Linked DNA regions of Homo sapiens: regions 1, 2, 3, 4 and 5 are each linked to region 6. Evidence: promoter capture Hi-C in 16 types of primary human blood cells and fetal thymus (Javierre and others, 2016). All regions are on one chromosome and are shown on one strand. Each heading gives the region's core, a stretch centred on a gene start or on the middle of the fragment in contact. The rest is flanking DNA. Distances are from core to core; before and after follow the strand shown. Region 1 overlaps SERTAD2 (SERTA domain containing 2). Region 2 overlaps LINC01805 (long intergenic non-protein coding RNA 1805). Region 3 has its middle 9.2 kb from the start of LINC01805. Region 4 overlaps AFTPH (aftiphilin). Region 5 overlaps LGALSL (galectin like). Region 6 holds the start of PELI1 (pellino E3 ubiquitin protein ligase 1).

Region 1 (3,278 bases), core at 404-2,903, 510 kb after region 6:
CAATGAGTGACGGACGCTCCAGGGGACAGTTCTGTTCATAAGGGTTTCCCAGCATCTGCACACAGGGCATAAGTTTGCCTTTAATATCAACTGCACTGGCCATTTGAGACAATCATTTTTTCTAGATTAGTAGCCATTTCCTTCAAACATACTAAAACTAAATGAAATAGCCACACATTTCTTAAACAGGAGTCCTGGCTTGTGGCTTTCTACCAATTGCTTAATGAGTAATTATTAACAATATGTACAAAATATATGAGTTGTGCATATAAAGTGGCCATGGCACTTTTAGATTTTCATGTTTTGCTAGTCAGTATTAATTAACAGAAAGACCTATGAGAGCTGGTGTCACCCTTATTGTGAGGCCATTTTCATGTCAACTGGAGCTTGCCTTCTGGTGCCTTCAGTACACAACTGATCTTTGGACTCAGTAATCAGAGACGGCGCCTGCGCTTGCTCTCTCTCTCACGCACCAAGTAACTATTGCAACTAGAGCTATCTCCTATAGGATATGCCATGACAGTGAATACAAAATTTCTGTTGCCAAGAAGCTTTAAAAATTCTATGAGTGAATTAAAGTTCATGGCCCCAAATACGCCTATCTATATATAGCTTTTTCCACAGGTAATATTGACAAAGTGGTCTTGATTCTGTTGATATATGTGAAATATAAAATAAAGCTTCATACTTTTTTTTCTGTGCTTTTTAACAAGAAACCACAGCAAAAGAAACCTCTCAAAGTTTCTGTTCCAGCTTTCACCTTTCTTAGTTACTAAAATGTAAAATATTTTGTCTGAGGGTAAACTTGTAGTATAATTGGACACTGATAATAAAAGTAGCATGCTGCAAGTTGATAGAAATTTTTATGTATTTGCATTCGAACATCTTCAAACTGCCTTCATACGTTTTGTAATGTTTTTTGTGTGTGATGCATGTGTGTGCCTTTCTAAAGTAGTGTTGTAACTTACTCTGCCATTGGAACCCTGTTTAAAATAGCAGATACCATAAGCTATCAGTCGCCACACAAATTTGAATGAGTTTTAAAATATCAAAATATGTGCTATTTTACTAGGCTCATTATCAGTAATAATTCAGTGTGTAGCAACTGGGCAAAATTCATATTTTAGCTTCTCAATTAAATAGAAAAGCTTTAAAGAGGGACAATTCAGCAAACAGAAGTGTAAAGATTTTCTAAATCTGAATTAATATCCTTCTCTTAGTTCTTCAAGGGAAACAAGCTTGAGCAGCTGTTACCTAAGACGCTGTGACATTCGCCTGACAATAAAACCGTTCCCTAGGACACCTCCTGTCACACATACACTTGGTTGGCTTTACAAAATGTGAGTCCTCTCCCTTACCTGTCTGAATGAAGTAAGGAAAAGGGCCGGGTGTTAAGGAAAAAGGGGGTTGGGGGATGTCAAATCCAAAATAAGATTTCTCATCTGAGAACAACATGGTTATGTATATTTTAATTAGGGGGTGAAACAAGTAAAAAAAAAAAACTGTTAAAGGATTCCAAACTTAATGAACGACATAAACAATTTTATATTAACATATAATACCCCTCTAAAGAAGTCAATGAAGCTAAAGGAAAACTTTTAAACATTTGTCTCTTTTAAATAAAAAGAAAAAAAACCCTGAAAAAATAAACAGAAAAGCAGAGATCCACAAACAAACTATTCTTGTTCACTCCAGAAGTTGGGATCTTAGGATGGATATTTTCATCTTCACAGCACACCCTAGCACACTCATATCAGAATAGACTGCTATAAAAAGGGGGAGGGATGGGAGCTGCCAGGGTGAGACATGCCTTCTGCTGAGCTGAGCAACTACCCCCAACCCCCATCGGCCAAGCAGCCCAGACGCTCTCAGGTGGACGGTCCTTCAGGGGCGGAGCGAAGCCCAAAGCCCACTTCACTCTTGTCAGGGACTAGTCTCTAACTACAAAAAGCTACTGTGAACACTTAGGGCCTCAGGAATCCTGGTGACTACAACTTCTAGCCTCTTTACACACATTATGGATATTTCTTAACATACATTGGGAAATCAAAAAGCGTATTTCATGAACAAAGCTTGAAAACATGTACTCTCTACCCTAAGCCCAACTGAGGCTGCCCAATTCGATTCAAATAAAAACTGCTGTGGTCTGAGGCTGGCTGTCTCACTCTGCTGACTGTCCTCCCCATTCAGTGTCTGTGAAAACTTACTTTCTACCTCCTGAAACGACTCGGCTTGCAAGCAAAAAGTTATTCCAATGCAAACTATACCTGATATTTTCGTGAAACTTAGAAACTAAACCTAAAACTCGACTCCCATCGCAATCTATTACTACCACTTCTGCTAAAGGTAACTTATAGCCAAGAAAACAAAACAAAATACGATTTTCTGTCCATGTAGTGGCCCTGTGACGACACCCCCTCTCTTACTGGTACAAAGTCTAGGGCTTGGGACAGCTGGCTCCCCTCAGCCCCCTCCCTTTCAGTCATAGGCGGTTACCACGAAGATGACTTGTAGATTTCTAACTTAAAAACCAACGAGACGTTAAGTTTAATATACATGTAGATCCCAAATCAATTCATTTGGGCATGGACGAAAGAAAAGAGGGTGGAGAGGAAGGTTTTCAACATTATTAAAAAAAACACCGGGAAATTCACAAAAACGCACTACAGTAAGTTGGATGCAAACCCGGCCACGGAACTCAAAAGTGAAGCAGCCTTCGCGCCAGCAATCCGAGCCTTAAAAAAAGTCTCGCACGTTCACAACAACACAACCGCCACAACGCGCACACACATCCCAGCTGTAGAGGCGACAGCTCCAGGCGCCCCCGCCCGCCGCTCGGCTCTCCGAGCTCCCGACCCCCTCCTGACCCCGGCCCTGCCCCCCAGCGGCTCAGCCCGCAGGCGCCGGGGGTCCGAGAGCGCGGGGCCCGGACCGGGGCCGCGGGAGGGAGCGCTCCTCCCGTACCTGCTCCGTCCCCGGCTCCCTCCCGCGGCGGCGCCCGGCCCCTCCTCCGCCCTCCGGGCTCTCCCAGCCCTGGCCGAGTCCCAACACCGGCCCCCCATCCACCCGGAGCCCCCCGCGCCCGCGGATCCCCTCCAGCCCGACGCCGGGAGAACTTACCACATGCAGCTCCACCTGGGAACTAACGCATCAGGAGGGGTTTCCGCCCACTCCTCAGCTACTCCCGCTCCATGCGGAGTGCCCCGCTCCAGGGGCCCGAGGGTGGCGCCGGGGAGCGGGCAGCAGGCGAGGCTGAAGCTAAGACTCCGCCGTTCTCT
Region 2 (3,375 bases), core at 608-3,107, 350 kb after region 6:
AAACCTAGGGTCAAGCTGTATCTTTTATGTCCTCTCTATTGCATGTCTATTTCTGTTACACGATTTGTTATTTCTTCAAATTTCCTATGGTAGCCAGATAAATCATCAAACAACCTGTTTGGGATATAAAACTTTGATAGAAAATATTTGATGAGTATCTTGATTATGACCTAGAATATGTATAAATTAGTAAAATAAACAGATATACTACAGAACTCTCTGTTGACTCAAACAGGTTGACCTCAATCCACGTTTTCTCTCGATATCACTCAATTGGCTAAAGGAGGAAACTCAAACCTCAGGGTTTGTTTTTCCCAGGACAGATAGTAGTGATAATGAAGTATATTTTAATAAGAAAAACAAACCAGTGAACCTTGAGAAATTTTAAAAAGCATCATCGAGGCATATTTTTCATAATTCTATACTTATCTATTTATTGCCCATGGAAAATATATGTGTAGAAGTATTTGTCTGTTATTTGTTACAATCTTCTTAATTTGTTTCAAAGATAATGCTGCCATACTGCATTCCCTCTGGAAGGAAATATTAGTTAGTGTTATATGAGAAAACTCTTTCTCATATACTCTTTTCAAATTCCCTGAAAGTTAATACTTTATCACACTTGCTTTATTATTCTCTCTCTCTACAAATACACAATTTTTTCTGAAATATTTGCAAATACATTACAGATATGTGGTCCCTTTTTCTCTAAATATTTCGGTGTATATTTTTTTAAAAACGGGAACATTCTTTTACATAACCGTAATACAACTGCCAAATCCAGAAATTGATACTGAAACAATAGTGTAATCTACAAACTTTATTCAGATTTTGCCAATTGCCCACTAGTGTCCTTTTTGTGGTCCTGGATCCAGTTCAGAATCATATGTCACATTTAATTGTCATGTTTCTTTAATCTCCCTTAATTTGAAACAATTCTTCTTTCTTGTCTTTCATGATCTTAACATGTTTATAAGAGTACAAGCTAATTGTTTTGTAGAATGATGCTCAGTTTGGATTTGTCTGATGTTTTCTTGTGATTCGATTCAAAGTATGCGTTTTTGTTCAGGAATATTCAGAAGCCATGCTGTGGTCTTCTCGGTGCTTCATGTCAAGAGGCACATGATACCTATTTGTCCCGTTAATGCTAATGTTCCCTTTGATCACTTGGTTGAGGTGGTATCTGCTAGATTTCCCCACTGAAAATTACTGTTTTTACTTTTTAAATAAGTATCTTATTGGGAGATACTTTGAGATGGCATAAATATCCTGTTTCTCATTGTTCTTTTAGCTTTTATTGGTCATTCTTCCCTTAAGCAGTTATTACTGCGGTGGTAGCCAAATGGAATTTTCTTATGCCATCATTCCTTCAACATGGCCTCATCAGCTATTATTACATATTAATGCATCTTGCTCCTCTCAAACGAATAGGCCCTCTGGTATGGGACTAGGAAACTTGTCCTTAAGTTAAAGGTCATGGAGGTAGGCTGAACAACAAAAGAACGTAGCAACAGCAGGGGACCTATGGAATGGGCACTACTGTTTCTGTAGGAACTGATCATGTAATTTCTAATATGTGTGAATGTGGCCACCCTTCCAAATTAGTGAGTTAGTGTGGGGCAGTTTGATGCAGGTTTGCACAGCTTTCAAAATTATCCAAAATAAAGTGTGCCTCCTAGAACCTAGTGTACTTTTGGTTATACTGTAGAAGAGGCAGCTTCATCAAGCTTTTAGAAAGCATGGGAATGGATGATAAATCAAAGGTAGATACACTGAGAGAAGAGGAATCCGCTGGAGGGGAACCTTGGGATGTTTCTGCTTTTGCAGCTCATGCAACAACAGATGAGCCAGTGAGAGACAAAGGCCAGAGAGGGAGGAACAGTATGTTGTTATGAAAACCACGGTAAGAATCTGAAGAAAGAGAGGTCATCCAATGTTATCTTCCCCTGGGTATAGTCTTGGATCTGGAATAACTTGAGTTCTTTAGAGAAGCTTGGGGTGAGCATTGTCAATATGCCTAAGTCCATAAAGTAAAGAGAAACCTCTCTGTGGGCTCTGAGTATCTGTCTAAGTCCTTTCCCCAAAACAAAAACCACATGGCCATTATCTGCTCAGGCAGTGCTGTGCCCAAACCCACCAGAATACACAGGACCCACTGCCCTGGTTCTGACAGTAGGGCTTAGGAGGCAACTCTATCCCATCCCCTTCCACAAAAAAAGAACAAAGCCCAAGACCCTGGAGTGTTTGACTCAGCTTAACCTTTTCAATGGCTGCTTGCAAAAACTTCCCTTCCCTTCTGGAATCCATTTAATTCACTTATCTGCCCTTATTCCCTAGTCTCGCTCACTGTCCCTCTTTTCCAAGCATGGCCCAGTCAGAATTGTTGAGTGTTACAGAGAGCAGCAGGAGGAGGTCTTTGGATCTGGGGTTTGAACAGTTCATTAGTTCACTGAATTCAGTGACACCTTTTGAGAGGCCAGGTTGGTTTTTTGTTTATTTGTTTGTTTGTTTTCTTGAGATGGAGTCTCACTCTGTTGCCCAGGCTAGAGTGCAATGGCACGATCTTGACTCACTGCACCCTCTGCCTCCCAGGTTCAAGCGATTCTCCTGCCTCAGCCTCCCAACTACAGGCACACACCACCACGCTCAGCTAATTTTTGTATTTTTAGTAGAGAGCGGATTTCACCATGTTGGCCAGGATGGTCTCGATCTCTTGACCTCATGATCTGCCCACGTCAGCCTTCCAAAATGCTGTGATTACAGGCGTGAGCCACTGTGCCCGGCCTTTTCTTTTTTTTCAGATGAGGTTTGCTACGTTGCCTGGGCTGGAGTGCAGTGGCTATTCACAGGTGTTATCATAGCTCATGACAACCTCAAACTCCTGGGCTCAAGCAGTCCTACTACCTTAGCCACCCAAGCAGCTGGGACTATGGGTGTGTGCCACCGTGCTTGGCTCAAGAGGCCAGTTTTAATTTTTAAAAAGTGTGATGGTTCCAGATTGCCAGGATTTGACAAGTATAAAGCATATAAAGAAAGCGGAGAAGCTCATGATAGCCTCCACTTGCCAGAAATTTGTTTGTAAAGGGAAGGAAAAAGACAGGTTAGCAATCTGATAGGGAAGCAGTGTCATGCATGGTTCAGGCTTTTGCAGTCGGGAAGTTAGGGTATATTTTCAAGGAGCTAGAGAATGGCAACCTGAACATGCCAGAAGGAGGAAAATACTGGTAGATGGAGGTGGAGGCAAAGAAGTACTGGTAAAATCAAGAAACCCAGATAAGGTTAGCTTTGAGAACAAAGATAGCATGTGACTTCTCTGGAAATAGGGAGGAAGAATGAAGGAAAAAGCAAGTGATAAATGATGATCCAAGCAAAATT
Region 3 (3,755 bases), core at 945-3,444, 330 kb after region 6:
CCTCAGCCTCCCAAGTAGCTGGGACTACAACCACATGCAGCTAATTTTAAAATTTTTTGTAGAGATGGAGTTCCACTGTGTTGCCCAGGCTGGTGTTAAATTCCTGGGCTCAAGAGATCCTCCCAACTCAGCCTCCCAAAGTGCTGAGATTACACATGTGAGCCACTGTGCCTAGCCTAAAACCCCATTTTTATAAAACAGTATGAAGGACATATTTCAAGAGGTGATGGGAATTGTATTGTCTTCCTTTCGTTTCTCAGCACTTCCTAATTTTTCTGTAGAAAATGTAAATCCATCCAATCTTCCAAAAAGTAGATTGACCAATCTATTACAAGTAGTAGTTTTATTGAGTAACTACTAGGTAGTTTATTGAGGAACTACTAAGTATCAAGCACTCTGCTGGGTCAGTACTGAGAGATGAGATTCCTGTTCACCAGAACTTTTCTGTTTATTACCACTTGTGTGATTTTTTAAAATTATTTTTTCAGTTGTACCAGTTAGGTATTTTTTCAGTCTAGAATCCAGGGAGTGAGTTATATCAGAGGCTTTCAAATAGTTCTAGTCCACAAATCTTCTTAGTGTTGCTAAAAACCCACTGATCTCCTGGTTCTTTCTCCCACACCCCACTGCTGCTTGCTATGGCAAATCAGGCAAAATCTTTGGCAAGGCAGTAGGGAAAGCCTGACCTGCTTTTAGAGAAGGCTATACTCTGTTAAATATCAAAAGGCAAGTTACTGATTTATGCTAGAAACAGAAGGATACCTGTTGTGTATCCTTGAGTGGATGAAGAGTCAAGGGTGGCTGTTGGACAAGTCCTGCTGATGAGTTTGGGTGGCTTTCACAAATCCACTAAGCTCTCCACTCCACACTTTCATTCTACCAAAAAAAAAAAAAACAAAAAAATGGGAACAATAGTGTCTGCTCTTCCTATGTCACTCCTTATGTGAAATAAGGAAAACATTATCTGTCCTGCCTGCCTACATGAGGAGTCTGCACAGCTCACATTGACCCTTTTGAGAGCTAACCTTACTCTAAGTTGGGTCTCCGCAGCCATGTTTGTACTAGACTTTCTCTCCTGGGATTTTAGAATGGGTACCAGGAGACTTAGATTCATTCTGAACTGGTTTTTCAAAAGGAAGAAGTAAAACACCTTGGTTGCTGGGCTTGGCCATCTTTGGTTGAGGAATCTGAATTACAGAAGAACAAAGCAGTTTGCTGAGAGAGGCAGAGCCGAGAGACAAACAGACCTGGTGGATTTCCACTTCCAGGACCCTGGCCTGATCTAGGACTGGGCTACATTCTTATCTTCAAGTTCAGGAGAATGCCCTGCATTGTTATAAAAAATCCTCCAGTTTTGCTCAAGCTAGTTTAAATCGTCTCTGTTTTCATAACTAAACAATTCCATCTTACACTCTTCTTCAAAAATTCTGTGAGAATCAAATAGACTTGTTTTATTTTATTTTTAGATGGAGTCTCCCTCTGTCACCCAGGCTGGAGTGCGGTGGTACGATCTTCACTCACTGCAACCTCCGCCTCCCGGGTTCAAGCAATTCTCCTGCCTCAGCCTCCCAAGTAACTGGGACTACAGGCGCCCGCCACTACACCCAGCTAATTTTGGTATTTTTAGTAGAGACAGGATTTCACCATGTTGGCCAGGCTGGTCTCGAGCTCCTGACATCAGATGATCCGCCCGCCTCAGCCTCCCAAAGTTCCGGGATTATAGGCATGAGCCACTGCACCCGGTCAAATAGGCTAATTTTATATGAGACATTTGAAAACTCCTTTAAAAAGAAAGTCCCCTGACTTTGCAGTTAGGGTAGGAGCTCAGGGTCTGACTGGTTTTCTTTCTCAAAATTCAAACAATTCTGCTAATTTCTACTCCAACCTCATCCCACATTCAAAAGTACATGTCACATCCAATTCCTGGGCTTTCTGGGGGATCTGTGGCACAAAGTAACTTGATACTTGGGTTGTATATTGGTTACAATAAGTAGTGCTGGCTGCTGTAACAAATAAACCCCCAGTTCTCAGTGACTTGACAAAATAAAAAGTTAATGTCTAGCTCATGTCAAAGTCCAGTAGTGCTGGAAGGAAAGTTCAGCTCAATCCTATTATGTGGGAACTCAGGTTTCTTCCACAAACTGGCTTTGTCATTTCCAGGGCCTCGAAGTCCTCTGCACAAGTCAGCAGGACTTGTCCAACAGCCACCCTTGACTCTTCATCCACTTGCTCCATCCACTCACAACAGGTATCCTTCTGTTTCTAGCATAAATTAATAACTTGCCTTTTGATATTTAACAAGAGTATGGCCTTCTCTAAAAGCAGGTAGGACTTTCCCTACTGCCTTGGTAAAGATTTTGCCTGATTTGCCATGGCAAGCAGTAGTGGGGTGTGGGAGAAAGAACCAGGAGATGCATGGGTTTTTAGCACCGCTAAGGTGGTTTGCGGACTAGGACTAATACCAGAGGACTCTGGATCCTCTGCATCGAGCCTGCAGATATAGGAAGAATGAGTGAGAACTCAGAGGTCTCCTGGGCAGTTTCTCTGGGGCCGGGCCTGAAAGCAGTATATATCATTTCTGCCCATATTCCACTATTCAGAGCTTAGCTACATGGCCCCACCTACCTATGAGAGAGGTTGGAACCATATAGTCTACCTACATGTCCAGAAGGAAAAGGAAAAGGGAAGGAGGTTTAGTGAACACAGAACAGTCTTTACCTCCATTTTCCAGCCCCATATCCTCTACTCCTGTTTTTAGTTTTCTCTAGCCTACTGTCATTTAGCCAACAATACAGGGGCTGACAAACAATGGCCTAAGGGCCAAATCCAGCCCATGGCCTGTTTTCATACATAAAGTTTTCACTGAGGCTCAGCCATGCCCATGTGTTTACTTACTGTCTATGTTGCTTTCATACTATAATGGAGCAGCTGAATTGTTTTGACAGAGCCCATGTGGCCTGCAAAGCCGAAACTATTTACTCTCTGGATCTTTACAGAAAAAAATTTGCCAACTCTACAAAACTACATCAGCTTTCCAAATAAGAGTGCACAATCTCTCCTGACTGTGTCTTTTCCTCTTCTGTTTTTGCCCCTCGCGGGCCACCTGCTGCCCCGGGTAAACCATCAGGTGAGACAGCCTCTGGAGAATGGCTCCAATGTGCTAAGGAAGAACTTGGCTGCTCATTTATTCCTGAGGTTCACTGGGTTTGGTCATTTTTGTAAAATTGCTGAAAGTTTTATGTTCTAAAGTCTAAGGATACTCTTTCTGAATTATTTTTTTTCTTATTCAACTTCCAGATGATGTTCTCATATTCACCTGGAAGTGCCATATAAGTTTTCAGCTAATGGAACAGAAAGCAAACAAGATGAGTGTGGTCAATTAAAGAATAAAAAATGGGTTAGAGAAAGAGCAAAAATTGGAAAGAGATGAGCAATGTTACCACAAGTCTCACAACCTACAACACCAACCCTACCCCCTCTAATACCTTGTTGTTACTAAAAAAAGACTGTGAAATAGGATTTATTGCATACATTGTGCTATCTTTGTAAATTCAGAGATTACATGTAATTTAGACCATTTTAATTAACAAGGATTATATGTTGCTTCATTGTCCTTTATTACGTATATAATGTCATAAACTTTGCTGCATGATCAAAGGTTCTTGGATTCTGTTTTAAATAAAGATTTTGAGACTTCAAAAGAACCTACCTCCCCTCTCAGATGGCTTCTTCTAGCCTAGAGTTCCTATGATTCA
Region 4 (3,831 bases), core at 865-3,364, 410 kb after region 6:
GAGTACTTGTTAAAGGAGTCTCGTTATGATGTATAATGCCTGTCTGATTTGTGGGTTGGTTACATTTTTCACAACCCTTTGGGAAACTACAAATAGTCCTATAGTAAAGCGCAGTAAGATTTTTCTTTATCTCAATGAGTTTCGTTAATATTTACAGATACTCATCAACTTGGATTTTTTGGTGACTATAAATACCATATATGTTAAAAAAAAAAAAAAAAACCCACACTTATTACCTAATTGACGGTTCCAGTCAATCCTTCAGTATTACCCTTTACAGTGATTTTAAAAGAAGGTTAAACTGAGATTTGGATCTTTTTTTTTTTAAGCTTAAGAATAGAATGTTAATTTTTTCCATCAAAGACCTAGGAAATTCAAGTACGGTTTTGATTCCAGGAGAGAACAAGCAGAATTTGAAACCTCATTCTGTGCCAAAGGCTATAGTGAATTGAAGAACAGAAAAACAACTAGAAAAAAGCAAGTTTTTCTTTTTCCTCATAATTTAGCAGCTGCTAAAAGACTTGGGGTGAGGGTATGAGATGAATTAAGGTTTAGTCCTAAAATAAGAAATAACTATAGGTTCACTTATTGTAGTTGTATTTATTTGCCTATACTTTCTTACAAATGTACTTGTTAGCTCTTCCTAGAGAGTAGGTGTGTCAGGGAGAATATTTTTACCCCTTACCTCCTATACATTATCCTTTTTTGATTCAGACTCTTTCAGAAAAGATTCATTAAGATTCACTTTGACCTAAAGTAGCCCCTAGAGGTGTAGCTTGATATCTAGGTTGTTCCCCAGTCCAGAGTTCTACTCTGTGCTAAACTTTACCTTTTTTCAACTCCAGGGGTGTGGAAGAGGGCACTCCCTTGAACCTCACTGCCTTATACTGACAATTGATATATGTAACTAACACCTGATCCACAAGCTTATTTTAAATATACTGTTAATAAACTCAGAATCTACAAACTTTATTTCTCCAGTTATCTTCTGCTAAGAAAACCATTTTCAACTGGAAATCTTTCCAAAGTCTTTGTAATTGAAATACTTATATTTCATTGCCTTGATAACTTTGAGACAGTAAGATATTAGAGAAATTATGGTATTACCAGTTGGTGTGCATAGCTAATCGCTTTTTAGTTGGCTTTTGTGTCAAAGTAGTTTAATTTGCTAATTCAGTTATTACATGGTTTAGCTAATGTGTATTATTCCTATTGAGCAGTTCATTATTTAGGCAGAACCTTGCCATTTTAAACAAGAAGTGAACTAATTATGATGCTAAATGAGGACTGTTGCTTTTGACCTAACCCTTTCCCTATTTAGTTTCATCTCACTAGAGGATAGGGTGACACTGGTATTGGGTGATCTTTAATTTGTAGCCTTAGAACTTTTAACATCATCAGATAATGAATTTTTTAAAGTGTGACCACTCAAGTAGGAATTTCTTGCATCATACAAGTTGATTGAAGTTATTTATGTATAATTTGATAACTGGATATAGGAGATAATAAAGCGTATGGGCTTCATGGAATCTGACAGATCTGAGTTTGAATTTTGACCCAGCCTCTTAAAAAGCCTTATGATTTTTGGATAGGTTACTTCTGAATTCAGCTGTATATACAAAGAAGGTAATACCTACTTCAAAGAACTTTTGTGAATATAAAAGGAAATTTTAAAATGAGTGAAATAATCTGCTAGAAAATAAGAATTTTATAGTATGATTCTTTTTTTTATAAAAATAAAACAAACTATAGATGGGGCAAGATGCATTAAGAGTTTCTGAGACCAGGTGCAGTGGCTCATGCCTGTAATCACAGCACTTTGGGAGGCTGAAGTGGGTGGATCACTTGAGGTCAGGAGTTCTAGCCCTGCCTGGCCAACATGGTGAGACCCTGTCTCTACTAAAAATACAAAAATTAGCTGGGCGTGGTGACGTGCATCTGTAATCCCAGCTACTCAGGAGGCTGAGACAGGAGAATAACTTGAACCCAGCAGGTGGAGGTTGCAGTGAGCCGAGATCACACCACTGCATTTCAGGCTAGGCTACAGAGAGAGACTGTCACACACACACACACACACACACACACACACACACACACACACAAGACTTTCTTGGATTTGTTTGGCTAAGGCCTCATGCTTCTATTTTTGCTAATGGGTTATGGAAAATGAACAGAATTTGGATGTTGGGAAAGAGAAACTGCTGGAGGAGGCCAGAAGAAGTTTGGGAAGAAAGTTGAAGTAGTGAAATGGATAAACCCTGCTGAGTAAGTGACTGAGTCAGAAGTGGAGAAAGATTGAACAAAGACTCTCGTTCTTACCCTGCTGTTGTGAAAGAGAATTGCGGCTGGCACTTTATTTCTTGGGCTTCAGATTCTGCTAGAAGAGTGCATTAATTTAGCCCTTTTGGAGAGGATTAGATTTATTAGTATTTTTCTTAAAATGTTTTCCCTAGTTGCTCCGGACAGTGTTTGGAACAGCACGAATTCCTCACTTTTTTTTTTTTTTTGGAGACAGAATCTTGCTCTGTCACCCAGGCTGGAGTGCAGTGGCACGATCTCAGCTCACTGCAGCCTCCGCCTCCCGGGTTCAAGCAGTTCTCCTGCCTCAGCCTCCCTAGTAGCTGGGACTACAGGCCCATGCCACCACGCCCGGCTAATTTTTGTACTTTTATTGGAGATGAAGTGTCACCATATTGGCCAGGCTGGTCTCGAACTCCTGACCTCAGGTGATCCACCCGGCTCGGCCTCCCAAAGTGCTGGGATTACAGGCGTGAGCCACCGTGCCTAGCCTCCTCACATATTAATAACAGTAAGCATTAAGTTTTTTAGTGGTAAAAGTTGAAATGATTTATTTCTGTTCAATCTTACCCGGATGCCACAAGTGTCCTGAACAAAATGCCATCAAGTGGTTTTGTCCGAATTTTGCTTTGACAGAACGTGTTTTAGAATTCAGAGCTTAATTAAACAAACATGGCAATTTGATTTAATTTGTTTGATTAAACAAGCATGGAAAACAAATCTTTGTTTTGTGAAGTCAGACAAATGGTATAGTTGGTCATTTCAGATTTCTTCCACTTTTCACTATTTGGTATGTGACATTGTCCAGGTCCCCATTTCTTAGCACTTTCCTGTTTTTAGCCCACCAAAAAGATATCTTAAAATGTTAATAAATATGTCTTCGTTGGGGTTAGTGCAATAATTTGTTACTTAGGTAGCGAAAAGTCAAGCAAGAATTCTTGCAAAATTAAAAAAATGTTCGTAGTCTAATTCTCAGCTGTGGGTCCAGCCAGTCTCAGAGGGTTCAAGCTTTGATGTAAAAGCCATATATGAACATTATTGAGAAATAGATATCTTGTCCCTTCGGTGAATAATTTTTTCTGAGAACCTGAAGTTTAGTATATTTCATTCTTTTGTTAACATTTGTATAAATTGTAGAGAAGGTAAGTAGTGGTATCTCCATTATACGAATGAGAACGAGGTCTTCACTTTTTGGCTAAAGATTTAAAACAACAAAATGCAACAACAACAACAAAACCTTCCTTACATTTCAAAGCAGTCCTTTTTTATGAGTGTTATTTTAACAATTTTTTTTTCTGTCCTGGGAAGCCAGGAAATTTTTTTTTAACTTTTTTGTTTCAGAAAGAAATCTTGATTGAAATAACCAAAATGCCTTGTTTGATAGCTACATGATAAAAGAGGTAATGAATGTCATAAGCACTGCATTTACCCCTGAGCTTTTGTAAAATTTTAAAATATTGTTCTGGATATCATTTAGAAATTTAGGTAATTGGTAAGTAATCTGTTTATATTAATTGGGTATAGAAAAGGAGG
Region 5 (3,302 bases), core at 742-3,241, 310 kb after region 6:
AAAAAAAAAAAAATTAGCCTGCCATGGTGTCACACACCTGTAGTCCTAGCTACTTGGGAGGCTGAGACGGGAGGATTGCTTGAGCCCAGGAATTCAAGGCTGCAGTGAGCTATGTGTGCATCACTGCACTCCAGCCTGGGTGACAGAGCAAGGCTCTGTCAAAAAAAAAAAAAATAAAGGGAAATGCAAGTAGTAATGGTGTTAAAAAGGGGTCAGACCTAGTGATGAATTGTCATTACACCTTAACATTACATCACAATAATGACAACTCAGTTAAAAGCTCCATGTTACATGTGAGCCCAATAAAACACAACTACACTTAACTGGTTACCCTTCATCTAGAAATTTTCAAGTGCCTCATGAAGAAGTAATTCTTTCACTTCTCTTCTTACATTCTGGGGAAAATAAGAATCCATGATTTTTGCATTGGTGGTAGAATTGAGATAGTTGCACTTCTAGTTATAGTCTCTGGAAGGCACCCTTGACCCATTATCTCTCCTCATCCCCTTCTCTAGAATGGTGATGTCCCCTTGGGCTCCTCTTGGCTAGGATAGTTTCTTAGTGATGAACCTTAATGCATAGCTCATGAATGTGAGTAACCACAGCTTCTGACTGCCAGGAGGAATATAATGCTCCCAACAGCAAAACTGAAGTGAAATAGGCCCTTCTTGGTGATAAAATTTAGTAATATAAAATAAATGTGACTAGTATCACATATGGAGCCTCCTTACATGGTGAATGCCAATGCTTTTAATAAACCCATCATAGCACACTACCAGTAATTGAACTTTATGGTAAATTACTTGAGGAAAAAGCTTTTACACTTACATTCTACACAGGAATCAGAAATTTTGGAGGTAGAGCCCAACAATCTGTGTTCTAACAAGCCCTCTGCAGGTCTCAATGCATTCTGATGTTTGTGAACCACTGAAGATACTGCCTTTCTTTCTCTAAAATGAAGTATTGTTTGTTTTCCCCAGTAGCGTTCATTGAAATTGTGGATTATTATTTTGTTTCTTCCAGGTGGAAATTCTTTGTGAGCACCCACGTTTCCGAGTGTTTGTGGATGGACACCAACTTTTTGATTTTTACCATCGCATTCAAACGTTATCTGCAATTGACACCATAAAGATAAATGGAGACCTCCAGATCACCAAGCTTGGCTGATTTAAACCACCTCTATTTCAAATAGGATCACGTGCCACAACTATCTGACTGTTGGTCTGGAAGAAGTGTCCTAGCAAGATCTGGAGACTTAAAAAGAAAACAAAAACAAATGGCAAGTTTCACTTAAGGGTGGTTTGCCCTTAAGAAGAAAGCTGTTGGGACAAAGACACCGAGCCATTATACCCAGAATAAAATAATACATTTATGCTGGATTTTATTCAGACCAAACTAAAATGGATTTGTGATGATTTGTGATTTGGTAGCAAATTATTCATCTTTTCAAAGCAAGGCAATGCTTAGAAACAGAAGTGCTAAAGACACTTAAAAAGCCAACAACAACGGTACAGTGAAATCAATGCATTTCTGCACTAAAGTGGAATTGTGTAGCACAACCAATATTTTAGTCAGGGTATTTACATAGAATGTAGGTTGTTCAAGGTTTGACTTTTTTTTTGTTTTTTGTTTTTGTTTTTGTTTTTGTTTTGCACAGCATAATGTTAATTCAGATTGTTGAAGCTTTCTTGTAGTTATTTATTTATACTCAATGTATGTATTAAAGAATGAACAATGTCTCAAGAACAGCAAGTTGTAAACTTTTGAATGTATAAATATCTTAGGTCCAAGGGGAGAAAATTACATATTACAATTATGAAACAGGTGAATTTCTGCTTTAAAGAATTGAGATTCTCCATACCCCTAAACTTAGGATCTCTTGATATAAACTGCTGTAAGTGCTTTTGGGAAACCTTTGCAAAACCATTTTGATAAAACTGCTTTCCAAGTTATTGTTGGTTATGTAAAATTCTATTTACATTGCTTTTTCTCCTTACTGGGAATTAGCACATTATTGGCTTCCTTAAGACTAATTATTTCTCTCTTGATTTATATAATAGCTCATTAAGTTGTTATTAATCAAAAACACAAAGAGGTGATTGCTTAGACAATTTTTAAAGTGACTATAGTATAAACTTTTAAAAGAATAATATGAAAATGACTGTGGAATGCAGTGTAAAGCAGAAGCAAACGGCCCTGAATAACTTACTTGGAAGTAATTTATATCAACTTAAGCTGTTAGCTCATTGTATAACTTTTCTTATGTGACCCTCACCAATATCCCTAAGTAATGCCTTTGGAAGCTTCAGAGTAGAAGATGCTTCCTACTGTGTTGGCTCTGAGGAGATAGTAGGATTAGATAGGATCCAGATTAGGAAATGATCCAGTTAGTTTATCTGAAAGGTTAACTCCCAGGACTCCAGGTCTTTGAATCCAGCCAGTAGAGTGAATGCTTCCAATTAAGCTGTAGGTGTTACCCTGCACTTACGGAACTGATCAAACAGGTGACTCCAACAGGAGGTTGCAGTACTGTAAACGTCACCGCAAGGCAAGGGATGCTTAAAGTCCTGGGTTCTGGACTTTAAAAGCTACATTGGCCCTGGAGGGAGGGACCCTTGGCATTGCTTTGATCAGGTAGTGAGGGAAGACAGGGTTCTGGGGTGGGGGTGTATTTATATATAATTTAGGTTTTGTTTGTACAGCATACTGTGTCTTGTAATGACACATCCTTGTCCTGCTTTCCTTTTTTGAGTTTTTTTTTTTTTTTTACACAACATGCAGAGGCACTGAAGTGACCATGTCATTTTCAAGTGTCAAGAATGTAGACAGTGTTTCAGTACCAAAGTCTAAAATAAACTAAAATTATGAATTTTTTATAGGTGATACATTTGGATTCTTCTCAACTTTGAAACTGTTTAGCACAGTTCCATTGTATTATATAAGAAGACACTGTATCCAACAAGACTGGCTGTACATTGAAAAGCTTTATGTACCAGCCAACTTATTTAACCATATTCAGCCTGTTCCGTGGGGGCTGTTCTGTGGTTCCAGGTATTTTCAAGCCTGTGATTAACTTCTCATGGCTTGTCACTTAAAAGTCCCTAAATTTGAGAGACTTAAAGGGCACCTTGAAATACATTTGTGGAGTTTTGATCCAACTTATGGTGGAAGAGCCCCATAGGAAGACTGTTTTGAGTGGCCAACCATTCCCACCCACTGCATAATTCAGCAGAAACTAGAGGAGCAGGGCGTGTACTGATTGGAATTGACACGCTTATTCTGTCTACCTATCAGCTAACTCA
Region 6 (3,650 bases), core at 86-2,585:
GTAGTGATTAAAATCTGTTAAATGTACATTTTTAAAAAACCTCTGCCCTCTGTCCCCTTCTTGCTCTCTTGCCTCTAACAGACCTGCACGTACAAAAATAAAAGTAGATGGTGACGTGAGTTTATGATTTACATTAATTTCCCTACTCGGAGCATTTTTCACTAAGTCTTTAGAGGTTTTAAGATTCAAACACTATGTAAGAAGAATTATGGTTTGAACTACGTAACAATTACCTAGACATCTTTTGGACTTCAGTTAACCTGTAAGTAAAATGAGCATCTTTAACTTTTCCACGGGGCTTTGGAGAACGGGTTCTTCCTCATAAACGCTTTCATATACTCAGACACGAGGCGCGGTAGAAGATCAAGCGTATCCATCAATTTGAGAGCTTTTCACGACCTCAGTTTACCCACTTAGGGAAACGGGCGTATTAACTTGTTTCCTAGGGGACCCGGGGGTGAAATTAATTAGCGTGTTTAAAATGCTCTGAGATCCAAAGATGAAAGGAAATGTGAAAGACGCGCAGAGATGATGACAACAATCATAACAATAAAAAGAATGACTAACTTGAAGTCTGCGTTATGTAAGGGAGGAAAAGAAGTTATCAGATCCGCACAAACAAAAGGGAAACCCACCGCCCCTTTTGTTTCTCCCATTTCCCTCTCCTCCCCGCCACCCGCAGAGCTCCCCTCTCGCAGCCGGAGCGCGCGGCCAGCCAGGCGCGGGGCTCGGAGTTGGCCGCCGCGCGCCCCGCTCCCGGGCGGAGGGGGAGGCCGCGTAGGGCCGGTTCCTGACAAAGGCGCTTCCTCGAGCCAGGGCGCGGGATGCAGGCGCCGCAAACTCCGCTCCCCGCCGCAGCGGGGGCGCGCAGGCGGGCGGGGAGAGCCGGCTGCTGGCCGCCGGGGAAGCCGCCGAGGAAGTTGCGCGCCCGCCCTCCCCGCGCCCCTCGGCGGCCCCGCCGCCATCCATCCCGCGGCGCCCCGCGGTCACACTTACCGGACAATTGCTGGTGGCCGGGATCCCAGAGCGGCCCCCGAGACCCGAGGCGAGAGGGTGAAGTGTTGTGCGCGGGGAGCGCGAGCAGACAGCCCGCCGTTCCGCCGCTGCCCTCCGCGCCCGCCAGCCGAGCCCAGCGAGGGGAAGTTGACCACGGAGCCGAGCGCTGAGGAGCCGCGGACGCAGGGAGAGGCGTTGGGGCTGCTTTGTGGTGCGCTCCCGGAGGGCTGGGGACCAATTCGACCGCACCGCGGGACTAGGGCTGCTGCCGCTGCTGCTAGTGGAGGCGGCGGCGGCGCCCCCCGACGGTCCCTCCGCCTCACACCGCCTCTGGGTCACTGACATACACTCGCAAGGAGGGGAGGGGTCTAGCCGGGGGGCGGGGCCTGAGGGAGGGGACCGGGCAGGGCCACAGCGGAAGGCGGTGTCGCCGCACCGAGAAGGCTCTTGGGAATTGTAGTTCTCCGGTTGAAGAAAAAAGGGATTCATTGTTGTCCAGCACCCTACCAGGCTCGCTCTGCACTGAGCATGCTCGAGGGCGAGGTTTGGACCGCCCCCTCCCACCGTTACCATGGTCACCGACACACTTAGCGAACGTGTTCAGTGCTGCTGTTGGCTGAACAAGGACGGTCTTGTATTATGGTGTTGTTGGGGATCCAACCCTTAGACGGTCCTTCCTACTTTTCTCCACCTCCAACTCCTAGCCTTACCAGTCATAAGTACCCAGTGAGGTCTGACTTTCTCTCCATATTTCAGTCTTCCCTGCTGCGTAATTTATCTTCCACAAACCCTAAATCACAAATACCTCTGTCCCTCACTTCCCTCAATTGAATCTTCTCCGGCTAAATTCAATTTTCTTTACCTAAGACTTGTCGAAATGTAGTTGTTTCCAGTAATTGAACAATTAGGTTATAAAACTTAGGAATATCACCACTATCAAAGTCCCGTAATTAATTACTTTGCTCAGTTAGTCACATCTAACTTTAAGATTAGCAAAGGCAAAGTACAGAATTAAGACCCCTATATTTTACTTGATTACTATAAAAGAATCCGGGTTCGTTCATTTTAAGGCCTACAATTTTTAAGACATACAAATTTCATAAAGTATACGTTCAAAAGACAAGTTGAAAATTGTTTATGTGTATTGGCCAACTTTAGTTTGGTAATAAGAGAAGTCTGAACCAAGGTATGAGTATGTTGTTGGGCTGGTCAGCTAAGTCTACACCCATCTTGGGCACCCAGGTGTGGAAAGGTGGTAGGGAGGAGGGTGGAGAAAGGCAGGACACATTACTGGCTCTCCGGAGAGCTAAAGGCAACGCGTCCTGAGCGCTTTTGTTTTCCTTCTCCACCTACCTAGAACCCCACACCCTGGAAGAAAAAGATTAATGCTTAGGAATCAGACACACTTTTGGAGCAAGGCTTTCAGAGAGTCTCAAGATCAGAAATCCTTATATCTACAGACTATATAATTATACACTCATTCAAAAAATGCTTGTTGAGTGTCTACTTGTGCTAGGCACTGTTTTGAGCCCCAGAAATAGAGATACAAAAATGTAAAAGAAACATTCTTATTTTCAGAGTGCTTACTATGCAAAGGAGGAGACAGGTAAATAGACTTAATTTGAGAAGTACTACAATAGGAAAATGCAAAGCTACCCACAGATGTGGGCAAAATCAGGAAATGCTTCAAAGATCACTTGAGATAACTAGGAATTAACATGTTTGTGTATTTTGGTAGGGGAGGAGGAAGAGAGAGGTGGGTGAGAGCATTGGGGGTGGTGTTGGGGAGAGCATCAAGCACAAATACCTAAAGGTGTGAGACCCAAACGTATTTTGGTTCAGCAAATAGTTGCATTGCTGGCAGTAGAATGGAGTTGGGGGAGTGGCAAGAGGAGACACTGAAAAAGGTAAGGGAGACAGCTTAGGTAATGAAGAATCTTGCACAATATGCTAAGGAACATGAACCTTTTCCTGGAAACAATGGGAAGCCACACAAGGATTGTAAGCAGATGGAATTTTGATAAGATAGGCATTTTAGAAAGATCACTCTATGGAGTGTGGTATGTATGGGACCTGTTACAGTATTACAGGGGAAAAAACCATGAGAGACTGAACTAAGGTAAGGCAGTGGCAGAAGAGAAAACTGAGGGTAATCAGACACTATTCAGGGGATAGAATATAGAACATAGTGACTAATTGCCTAGGTTTGGGGGTGAAGGGAAAAGTAAAGTTATGAATTATGATGCTTGTGGTTGAAAGCAGCAGAAAACCCAGCTCTAACTGGCTTAACCAATAAAGGAGATTTATTGAACCATCTAGCTAGAAAGTTCAGGAAAAAGGCAGTCTATAGGGATGACTGATTCAACAAATCAGAGATGTCATTAAAGGCACTTTTTTTCCCTCATTTTAATTGCTTTATTGTTAGCTTTATTGTCAAATGACGGTTGCCAACAACTTGTGTAGCTTTAAGTTTCGCTATTTAGGTCCAAGAAGAAATAAGAAAAAGATTCACTTTTGGAAGCTCTTTTGTAAAGGAAAGAAAACTCCTTTCCCAGAAGCCTCAATGATTTAGTCACATGTCCCTACATAAACCAAAAATGGCTGCCAGGAGATGGCACAAGGATAATTATCTTAGGATGAAGACATGTGCGTAC

What was found. Contacts are between HindIII fragments. The CHiCAGO score rates a contact against its expected background, and 5 or more counts as called.
Region 1: a fragment that was not itself captured here is called in contact with the fragment with the promoter of PELI1 in region 6 in 1 of 17 cell types (fetal thymus); the score reaches 7.4 in fetal thymus.
Region 2: a fragment that was not itself captured here is called in contact with the fragment with the promoter of PELI1 in region 6 in 3 of 17 cell types (activated CD4 T cells, M1 macrophages and M0 macrophages); the score reaches 6.6 in activated CD4 T cells.
Region 3: a contact is called between a fragment that was not itself captured here and the fragment with the promoter of PELI1 in region 6, in 1 of 17 cell types (activated CD4 T cells). The highest score is 6.2, in activated CD4 T cells.
Region 4: a fragment that was not itself captured here is called in contact with the fragment with the promoter of PELI1 in region 6 in 1 of 17 cell types (activated CD4 T cells); the score reaches 5.5 in activated CD4 T cells.
Region 5: a contact is called between a fragment that was not itself captured here and the fragment with the promoter of PELI1 in region 6, in 1 of 17 cell types (activated CD4 T cells). The highest score is 5.4, in activated CD4 T cells.

What each region holds. Positions count from the first base shown.
Region 1 is chr2:64,650,500-64,653,777 of GRCh38, forward strand. It overlaps SERTAD2 (SERTA domain containing 2), which reads right to left. Exons shown (of 2, transcript NM_014755.3): 1 at 3,121-3,278. Among named protein-coding and RNA genes, the nearest start is that of SERTAD2, 1.8 kb to the right of the region's middle. RefSeq lists silencers at 2,378-2,457, 2,758-3,087, 3,196-3,278, 3,228-3,278. The HindIII fragment of the contact is 834 bases long and covers 1,237-2,070 here.
Region 2 is chr2:64,495,276-64,498,650 of GRCh38, forward strand. All of the region lies in intron 2 of LINC01805 (long intergenic non-protein coding RNA 1805), which reads left to right. Among named protein-coding and RNA genes, the nearest start is that of LINC01805, 11 kb to the left of the region's middle. The HindIII fragment of the contact is 265 bases long and covers 1,726-1,990 here.
Region 3 is chr2:64,475,243-64,478,997 of GRCh38, forward strand. No RefSeq gene overlaps it. Among named protein-coding and RNA genes, the nearest start is that of LINC01805, 9.2 kb to the right of the region's middle. The HindIII fragment of the contact is 5,493 bases long and covers 1-3,755 here.
Region 4 is chr2:64,553,498-64,557,328 of GRCh38, forward strand. The region is part of intron 2 of AFTPH (aftiphilin); the gene reads left to right. All of the region lies in intron 5 of LOC105374773 (a long non-coding RNA gene), which reads right to left. Among named protein-coding and RNA genes, the nearest start is that of MIR4434, 30 kb to the left of the region's middle. The HindIII fragment of the contact is 2,380 bases long and covers 925-3,304 here.
Region 5 is chr2:64,457,262-64,460,563 of GRCh38, forward strand. It overlaps LGALSL (galectin like), which reads left to right. Exons shown (of 5, transcript NM_014181.3): 5 at 1,024-3,302. The coding sequence ends at 1,167. Among named protein-coding and RNA genes, the nearest start is that of LGALSL-DT, 4.0 kb to the left of the region's middle. The HindIII fragment of the contact is 620 bases long and covers 1,682-2,301 here.
Region 6 is chr2:64,143,085-64,146,734 of GRCh38, forward strand. It overlaps PELI1 (pellino E3 ubiquitin protein ligase 1), which reads right to left and starts at 1,336. Exons shown (of 7, transcript NM_020651.4): 1 at 997-1,336. RefSeq lists silencers at 784-853, 864-933, 1,074-1,143, 1,224-1,413, 1,504-1,563. The HindIII fragment of the contact is 6,118 bases long and covers 1-3,650 here.